2 separate regions of the Homo sapiens genome follow, and region 1 is linked to region 2. Evidence: promoter capture Hi-C in human tissues and cell types (Jung and others, 2019). All regions are on one chromosome and are shown on one strand. Each heading gives the region's core, a stretch centred on a gene start or on the middle of the fragment in contact. The rest is flanking DNA. Distances are from core to core; before and after follow the strand shown.

The links. The method cuts DNA at HindIII sites, captures the fragments that hold promoters and counts their contacts. A contact is called where the count stands out against the background at its distance.
Region 1: a contact is called between a fragment that was not itself captured here and the fragment with the promoter of CBR1 in region 2, in 3 of the 25 tissues and cell types used here (dorsolateral prefrontal cortex, heart left ventricle and heart right ventricle).

What each region holds. Positions count from the first base shown.
Region 1 is chr21:36,120,895-36,125,562 of GRCh38, forward strand. The region is part of intron 1 of CBR1-AS1 (CBR1 antisense RNA 1); the gene reads right to left. Among named protein-coding and RNA genes, the nearest start is that of CBR1-AS1, 3.4 kb to the right of the region's middle. The HindIII fragment of the contact is 4,381 bases long and covers 52-4,432 here.
Region 2 is chr21:36,068,248-36,072,619 of GRCh38, forward strand. CBR1 (carbonyl reductase 1) reads left to right here and starts at 1,777. Exons shown (of 3, transcript NM_001757.4): 1 at 1,777-2,157; 2 at 2,703-2,810; 3 at 4,199-4,372. The coding sequence starts at 1,869. CBR1-AS1 (CBR1 antisense RNA 1) reads right to left here. Exons shown (of 4, transcript NR_040084.1): 4 at 1,395-2,238. RefSeq lists an enhancer at 1,833-2,082. The HindIII fragment of the contact is 9,879 bases long and covers 1-4,372 here.

The sequences.
Region 1 (4,668 bases), core at 992-3,491, 53 kb after region 2:
TTAAAAGTTATATTTAGTTGGGCACAGTGGCTCATGCCTGTAATCCCAGCACTTTGGGAGGCTGATGTGGGCAGATCACCTGAGGTCAGGGGTTCGAGACCAACCTGGCCAACATGGGAAACCCCATCTCTACTAAAAATACAAAAATTAGCCAGGCGTGGTGGCAGGTGCCTGTAGTCCCAGCTACTTGGGAAGCTGAGGCGGAAGAATTGCTTGAATCCAGGAGGGGGAGGTTGCAGTGAGTGGAGATGACACCACTTCACTCCAGCCTGGGCGACAGAATGAGACTCCGTCTAAAAATAATAATAATAATGTTATATTTAGATATAAAGAATTTAAGGGACTAAAGAGTTTCCACAGTTTTTTTTCAAACTTTTGAAATTTGATATTTCAAAAAATAAATCTTGGCCAGGCACAGTGGCTCATGCCTGTAATCCCAGCGTTTTGGGAGGCTGAGGTTAGCAGATCACTTGAGGTCAGGAGATCGAGACCAGCCTGGGTAACATGGCGAAACCCCATCTCTACAAAAAATACAAAACACTAGCCGAGTATTGTGGTGCATGCCTGTAGTCCCAGCAACTTGGAGAGAGACAGGAGGTTGAGGCCACAGTGAGCCATGATCATGCCACTGCACTCCAGCCTGGGTGACAGGGTGAGACCCTGAATCAATTAATCCATCTTACATCAGCCACTTCTTAGGAATGCTTTAAACCAACTCAACCTTTTTAGATTAAGCATAGATGAGCGAAATACAATATGGAAATATTAGTTTTACTTAAAATTCTGAAAAAGCAACAAAATATTATATTCATGTAGAGTCAATTGTGAAAAAAACTGATTCCTGAAGCCACAAAGTCTACACCTTTATTGTATCAACTTTATGTTCAATTAATATTTTTAAGAATATTTCTATGATTAAAAATTAATTATAAATCCTATCAAGAATCAAACTTACTAAATGTTAACTTTAAAAGCCAGTAAGATCTACAACACAGATGAACCTTGAAACATACTAAGAGAGGCTGGTTGTGGTCGCTCATGTCTGTAATCCCAGGACTTTGGGAGGCTGAGGTGGGCAGATCACTGGAGCCCAGGAGTTTGAAACCAGCCTGGCTAACATGGTGCAACCTTGTGTCTACAAAAAAATACAAAAAATGAGCAGGGCATGGTGGTGCACCCCTGTAGTCCCACGTACACAGAAGACTGAGGTAGGAGGATCACTTGAGCCCAGGGAGGTCAAGACTGCAGTGAGCTATGATTGCACCACTGGGCTCCAGCCTGAGCAACAGAGCGAGACCTTGTCTCAAAAAAGAAAAAAAAAAAAAAAACCCACTACGTGAAAGTCAGTCACAAAGGGCCACATCTTACTGTTTCATTTATCTGAAATGTCTAGAATTGGTAAGTCTATATAAATGGAAAACAGGTTAGTGGCTGCCTAGGGATGAAGGCATGGAAGGAAATGGGGAATGACTGCTAATGGCTATGGGGTTTGTTTTAGGGGTGATGAAAATGTCCCAAAATAGTGGTAATGGTTGTATAATTCTGTGAACATACTATCAATCATTGAATTGTATACTTTAAATGGGATTTAATTCACATTACATCTCAATAAAACTATTTTTTAAAGAAGAAAATGTTCAAGGAACAAGGGTTGCTAAATAACAGAGGATAACTGTTGTTTGACAACAGCACAAAAATTATTTCCCAAAAAGTGTAATGGCCCTGGAAAATGAGTGCAACGGGATCTTCTCTTGAACCTGGATAGCGGGGTGTGGACAGCTGGGCACACTGAAGGCGGTGATACAGAACTAAAAGCAACAGGACAGCTATGAAGGGAAAAGAAAATCAGTGTGGCTACCAAGACATTTTAGTGTCTGCTTTCAAGAAGGTCCTCCCCCCATGCTTGGCTCATGATATGGGGTGAGTCTCTTGTTAGAGTGGAACATATAGGTCAGTGTAAAGTGTGGAGACCAGCACCTGACTCTGAGCAAGAGTTCCATGAATATTAGCTTTCTATTTTTAAAAACCCACTAAAAGTCTGGGCACAGTGGCTCATGCCTATAATCTCAGCACTTTGGGAGGCTGTAGTGGGTAGGATCGTTTGAGCCCAGGAATTTGAGACCAGCCTGAGCAACACAGTGAGAACCCATGTCTACCAAAAATTTAGCCAGGCTTGGTGGTGCACACCTGTAGTCCCAACTGCTCAGGAAGCTTGAACCCAAGAGGTTGAAGCTGCAGTGAGCCGAGATCACGCCACTGCATTCCAGCCTGGCCAACAGAGGGAGCCTGTCTCAAAAAAATAAATAAATAAATAAATAAATAAATAAATAAATAAATAATAAAAAAATATGAAGCCACTAACAAAGGAGGGTAGGAAATAGTTAACAATCCAGTTATATTCTCTTTAGAGACACGCAATACCAGATAACAAAAACAATAAAGATGGCTATCTTAGTCCCTTTTCTGTTGCTATAACTGAATGCCTGAGACTGGGTAAATTGTAAAGAAAATACATTCATTTCTTACGGTCTGGAGGCTGGAAGTTCAAGGTCAAGGAGCTGCATCTGGTGAGGGCCTTCTTGCTAGTGGGGACTCTCTGCAGAGTTCCAAGGTGGTACAGGGTCACATGGCAAGGAGTACACAAGAGAATGCCAAGTGGCTTTTATAACAGACTCAGTTTTAAAATAACTAACCCATTCCCATGATAACCCATTAATCCATTAACCCATTAATCCATGATATATTAATCCTTTGGTGAGGACAGAGCACTAATGACCCAATCACCTCGTACAGGCTCCACCTGTCAATATTGTTACATTTGGGATTAAGTTTCATCATGAGTTTCAGAGGGGAGAAGCATTCAAACCATAGCAAACTCCTATGATGGTAGAAAAATAAATATAAGAGCAAACTGTACCAAAAGGAAACTAAGCTTTATATATGCTTCTATAGTTTGAATTATGTGTCCTCCCAAAATTTATATGTTGAAACCTAATCACCAAGATGATGGTATTAGAAAGTGGAGCTTTTGGGGAGGTGATTGGGTCATGAGGGCTCTGTCCTCACAAATGGGATTAATGACCTTATAAAAGATATATAAGGGAGCTGCTTCCCTCCTTTTTGCCCTTCCACCATGTGAAGACAAAGCGTCCATCCCCTCTGGAGGGCAAAACAACAAGGCATCATCTTGGAAGCACAGACCAGGCCCTCACTAGACTTCCTAGAACCTTGACCTTGGACTTTCTAGTCTCCAGAACCACAAGAAGTAAATTTCTATTGTTTATAAATTACCCAGTCTCATGTATTTTGTTATAGCAGCACAAATGGACTAAGACATGCAGGCAAGAATTTATGATAGGCCGGGCACGGTGGCTCATGCCTGTAATTCCAGCACTTTAGGAGGCCGGGGTGGGAGGATCATCTGAGATCAGGAGTTTGAGACCAGCCTGGCCAACATGGCGAAATCCCATCTCTACTAAAAAACATATATATATACAAAAATTAGCCAGGTGTGGTGGTGCACACTTGTAATCTTAGCTACTCAGGAGGCTAAGACAGGAGAATTGCAGAATTCTTCTGCAATTCAGGAAGCAGAGGTTGCAGTGAGCTGAGATCGTGCCACTGTACTCCAGCCTGGGCAACAGAGCAAGACTCCATCTCAAAAAAGAATTTATGATAAACAAGTCAGGCTATCCAGATGCAAGGGCTCATGCCTGTAATTCCAGGACTTTAGGAGGCCAAGGTAGGAGGATTGCTCTAGCCCAGGAGTTCAAGACCACCTTGGGCAACATAGCAAGACCCCACCTCTTAAAAACATATATAAAAATAAAAAATTGTCCAGGCATGGTGGCACAGACCTGTAGTCTCAGCTACAAAGGATCGCTTGAGCCTGGGAGGTCAAGGCTGCAGTGAGCCATTATCATGCCACTGCATTCCATCCTGGGCAACAGAGCAAGACACTGTCTCAAAAAAGAAAAAAAAAATTCAGGCTAAATAATATATTAGACCAGTTGAAAGGGATCAATAGAAACATTAAAGAAAGATTCTATAGTGGGTTAGTTCTGCAGTGTCCCCTCAAAATTCATGTCCACCTGCCATCTCAGAATGTGCCCTTTTGGTAATAGGGTCTTTACAGATGTAATTAGTTAAGATGAGATTATGCTGGAAGACTAATGTCCTTATAAGAAGAGGAGAAGGGTCAGGCATGGTGGCTTATGCCTGTAATCCCAGCACTTTGGGAGGCTGAGGCGGGTGGATCACTTGAGGTCAGGAGTTCGAGACCAGCCTGGCCAACATGGTGAAACCGTGTCTCTACTAAAAATACACAAATTAGCTAGGTGTAGTGGCAGGCGCCTGTAATCCTGGCTACTCGGGAGGCTGAGGCTTGAGAATCGCTTGAACACAGGAGACGGAGGTTGCAGTGAGCCAAGATCATGCCACTGCACTCCAGCCTAGGCGACAGAGTGAGACTGTCTCAGGAAAAAAAATTAAAAAAAAAAGGAACAGGAGAGGAGAAGACATACACAGATGCTCAGCAGAGACAGCAGCCATATGAAGACAGAGGCAGACATTGGTGTGATGCTGCCCCAAGACAAGGAATGCCAAAGATTGCTAGCAACCACCAGCAAGTGGAAGAGGCAGGGAAGGATTCTTTCCCAGCGCTTGGAG
Region 2 (4,372 bases), core at 527-3,026:
TATCCTAAATCTGTACTGCCCAATACAGTGACCACTAACACATGCACATATTGAGCACTGGAGATGTGGCTAGTGCAACTAAAAAACTGAATTACAAATTTTGCTTAATTTGAATTTATGTTTAAATGGCCACCTGTGATAGTGGCAACCTATGGGACAGCACAGAAATGAAACTTGACCTTATTCCCAATTCCCTTGTAAGTAGGAAGGAGGAACACTCACTTTGAAACCATGCAATTGTCCCATAGGACAGATGTTTATGGTCTCTTTTTTTTTCCTTTTTTTTTTTTTTGAGAGGGAGTCACTCTGTTGCCCAGGCTGGAGTGCAGTGGCATGATCTCGGCTCGCTGCAACCTCCGCCTCTGGGGTTCAAGCAAGCAATTCTCTGCTTCAGCCTCCCAAGTAGCTGGGATTACAGGCGCCTGCCACCACACCCAGCTAATTTTTGTATTTTTTTTTTTTTTTTTTTTTTTTAGTAGAGATGGGGTTTCACCATCTTGGCCAGGCTGGTCTTGAACTCCTGACCTCATGATCCACCCACCTCAGCCTCCCAAAGTGCTGAGATTACAGGCGTGAGCCACCGCGCCAGGCCTGGTCTCTTTTGAATAAACAAATTGACCCTCCCAGTCTAAAAACTTGAGAAATTTACATTTGTCTTATCTGAGTTCCTTTCTCAGGGAACTAGCCATCAGTCCTCCCAGATAGCACCAAGGAACTGAAACTTATCGGATCACCACATCTGGAAAATCAGACACCAGACCCCTCACCTGCAACAATTGCCTGATGCCTGTTGACCCACTCCTCTTCATCTCTCCCTAACTCCTGCTATTTTCCCACATGCAGTTACATTTCTTCCCTGCTATATCCTAATTTTAATCAGTTGAGAAGATGGATTTGAGACTGATCTCTCCCCCCTAGGCTGTAGCACCCAAATAATGCCTTCTTCCCTGACAATAATGGGGTCTCAGTGACTGGCTTTCTGTGCTGTGAACCACCAGACCTAGACCAAACTCCTGGCATTTCTCTAACAATTTCCCACCACTGAACTAAGTTATAAATTCTGAGGATGGATCCCTGTTTCTTCATTTTAAGATGGGGATTAAAAGGTACATCCTAGAGTGTTATTGTCCGTGTAAAATAGGGCTGTGAAACCCCCTACACCTATGCACAGATAAACTGATGGCCCTGCAAATGCCCAGAGAAGTAACCTTATAAAGATTTAGTGAATGTTTCCCACCATTATTGGAAAATCTGGCTAAGTCAGTAGCTTTGTTTTCATATACTTAGGGGGAAAATCAACAAAAACTTGATGCCCTGTTATTTCCTTCCAGTTTCTTCTGCAACTCTAGCTCCAAAGACTGCAGTTCCTGCAGTATTTTTTTTTTTAGAACACCAGGAAAAAAAGAAAAAAAAACCATGCAAATGTACTATTTCTTCAAACACAACTAGGAATGATTGAACAGCTGGGAGAATATGAAGAAAACCCCTCAGAGAACCAAGGGCAAGCAGTGAGTTCAGATCTAGGCACATGGCCACTAGGAATGGTTCTTCACTGCCACGTGGGCAGCCAACAGCCAGTAGCTAGAGACCAGCCTCGGTCTTCGGCCTGCGGGTTCTGCAAAGTCAGGCTAGCTGGCTCTCCGCCTGCTCCGCACCCCGGCGAGGTTCCGGTGGGGAGGGGTAGGGATGGTTCAGCCCCGCCCCGCTAGGGCGGGGCCTGCGCCTGCGCGCTCAGCGGCCGGGCGTGTAACCCACGGGTGCGCGCCCACGACCGCCAGACTCGAGCAGTCTCTGGAACACGCTGCGGGGCTCCCGGGCCTGAGCCAGGTCTGTTCTCCACGCAGGTGTTCCGCGCGCCCCGTTCAGCCATGTCGTCCGGCATCCATGTAGCGCTGGTGACTGGAGGCAACAAGGGCATCGGCTTGGCCATCGTGCGCGACCTGTGCCGGCTGTTCTCGGGGGACGTGGTGCTCACGGCGCGGGACGTGACGCGGGGCCAGGCGGCCGTACAGCAGCTGCAGGCGGAGGGCCTGAGCCCGCGCTTCCACCAGCTGGACATCGACGATCTGCAGAGCATCCGCGCCCTGCGCGACTTCCTGCGCAAGGAGTACGGGGGCCTGGACGTGCTGGTCAACAACGCGGGCATCGCCTTCAAGGGTATGGGGAGGGGACGTGGCCTCCCCGAAGAAGAACCGATGCACTGGGGCTCCTGGCGTCTGCGGGGTCCATAACGCCTCCCTAGGGAGGAGAGGGAGGAGCTAGGAGATGCAGGGAGTGCAGAAACCTTGGAGAAAGTGAGAGTTTTCCAGCCAAAGGGAACTTTGTGTTTCCCTGGCTGGGACTCTTGGGGATCTTTTTCAGGTTTTCTGCAGTTTTTCTGAATTGAGCTTTAAGGCAACTGGATGGATTTTGAACTGATTTTAAAATAAACGACAAATTGCAAAAAGAAAAAATGGTTATGCCAAGATCCAGTGTGTGCACCCTTCATCCTCCTTCCCCCAATGGTGCCATCTTACAAAAATACTAGAACATGATCAAACCAGGAGATTGACATTGGCACAATACTGTAACCAGATACAGACTTACTTTAGGCAGAGGGCACTAAGTTTTTTTTTTTTTTTTTTTTTTTTTTTAGTATCATTGTATAGAATTTTACCCCATGGGTACAATGTATTAACTATGTTCTCTTTCTCTCCTAAAAGTTGCTGATCCCACACCCTTTCATATTCAAGCTGAAGTGACGATGAAAACAAATTTCTTTGGTACCCGAGATGTGTGCACAGAATTACTCCCTCTAATAAAACCCCAAGGTGAGTCTGATGGGAAACAGCGCACCTTCTCTTTGGGGCTTGATTTGGCCCCTGCTTGCCTGGGATTTCTCCTGCAGGCTCCTGCTTCCTCTCCATGCTGCACGTGCACTGACCTCTGTGCTTTTTCTCCTGCCAGCTGATATGTGCCATTTTGCCTCAGGACTTTGTCCTCACTTCTCCCACTCCCATGGCCATTCGTCCTCCCTGTCGCACTGGTCTTTGCACACCTGGCTGACTCTCATCCTTCAGGTCTTAGCTCAAACGTCTCCTGAGAGATGCTCTTTATTTGCTCCATTCCCCTCTGCGTGGGAGTCCATCCTGTACCCTTTCTCTGCTCTTTCAGAGAGATCTTATTCAGGCTGGTGGAGGCTTTACTACCACCAGTTCATTAGGCCCTTCTAATACCTGTCACCTGTCTGAAACACTCCTTAAGCTCCCAACCACATGGTTGTCTTGCTGCCTTTCCATCTCTTCCTGATGCCTTTCCCCACAATCTAAGATATTTCCAGAGGATCCCTATCCTTTTCCCTAAGTCGTTTGGGACACAGACCCCACCACCCACCCACCAGGATCCTGCAGGTCACCATGCCCCACCCCTCATAATCATTTACTAGGTCCTAGGAGTTGTGCCCACTGAGTTCCTCCTGAATCCGTCTCATTGCAGCTCTACAGCAGGCCCTCACCTGTCCCTCTGGACAATTGCAAACCCTCACAAGGCACCTCTGGTCTTGAGTCTTTTCCTCTTTTCCTTTCCCAGCATCCTGCGTACTGTCTGCATGGTCATGCCTCTCCCAAAATCCTTCAGGAGGAAAGTCCAAGCCCTTAGCATGGTTCACAGAGATGTCCATAATCTGCCGCTGCTTAACTCTGGGCCCATTTTAACTCCCCTTCAACGTGCTGAAGGTGCTGGACATGACTATCACATGTCTTTGGTTGTAAACTGCTGTGATAGTTACCCTAAGTAATGGGACAGGAGATGAACCCACCCATTAAATAACACAGCAATTAAGCAGCCACTTTTAGAAAAATTTAAATGTGTGGCTTCGAGTTGGGTACTTGCATGTACAGCTTACTCTCAGCTTTTATCCTGTTTCCCTGTCCTGTCGTCCTGTTAAGTTGTGCTACTTCTAAGGCTCTGGTTCACCAGGACCTCAAAGGGCAGCTCTTCCAAATCTCACCTGACTCTACTCAGCCAAAATTCGAAGGCAGGAATGAACTTCTTCATGCAACTACCACCACACTTTCTATGCGTATTCCTCTTAGAACTCATACCAGTAACTGTCTCTCATATGAAAATTTTCTGCTCCAAAATCCCTGCAAATTTGGCATTCACCTCTCTACGGGATTGTTGCACACCTTTCTACATAATGCTTTGTGGTGTATCTTAGGGAGAGTGGTGAACGTATCTAGCATCATGAGCGTCAGAGCCCTTAAAAGCTGCAGCCCAGAGCTGCAGCAGAAGTTCCGCAGTGAGACCATCACTGAGGAGGAGCTGGTGGGGCTCATGAACAAGTTTGTGGAGGATACAAAGAAGGGAGTGCACCAGAAGGAGGGCTGGCCCA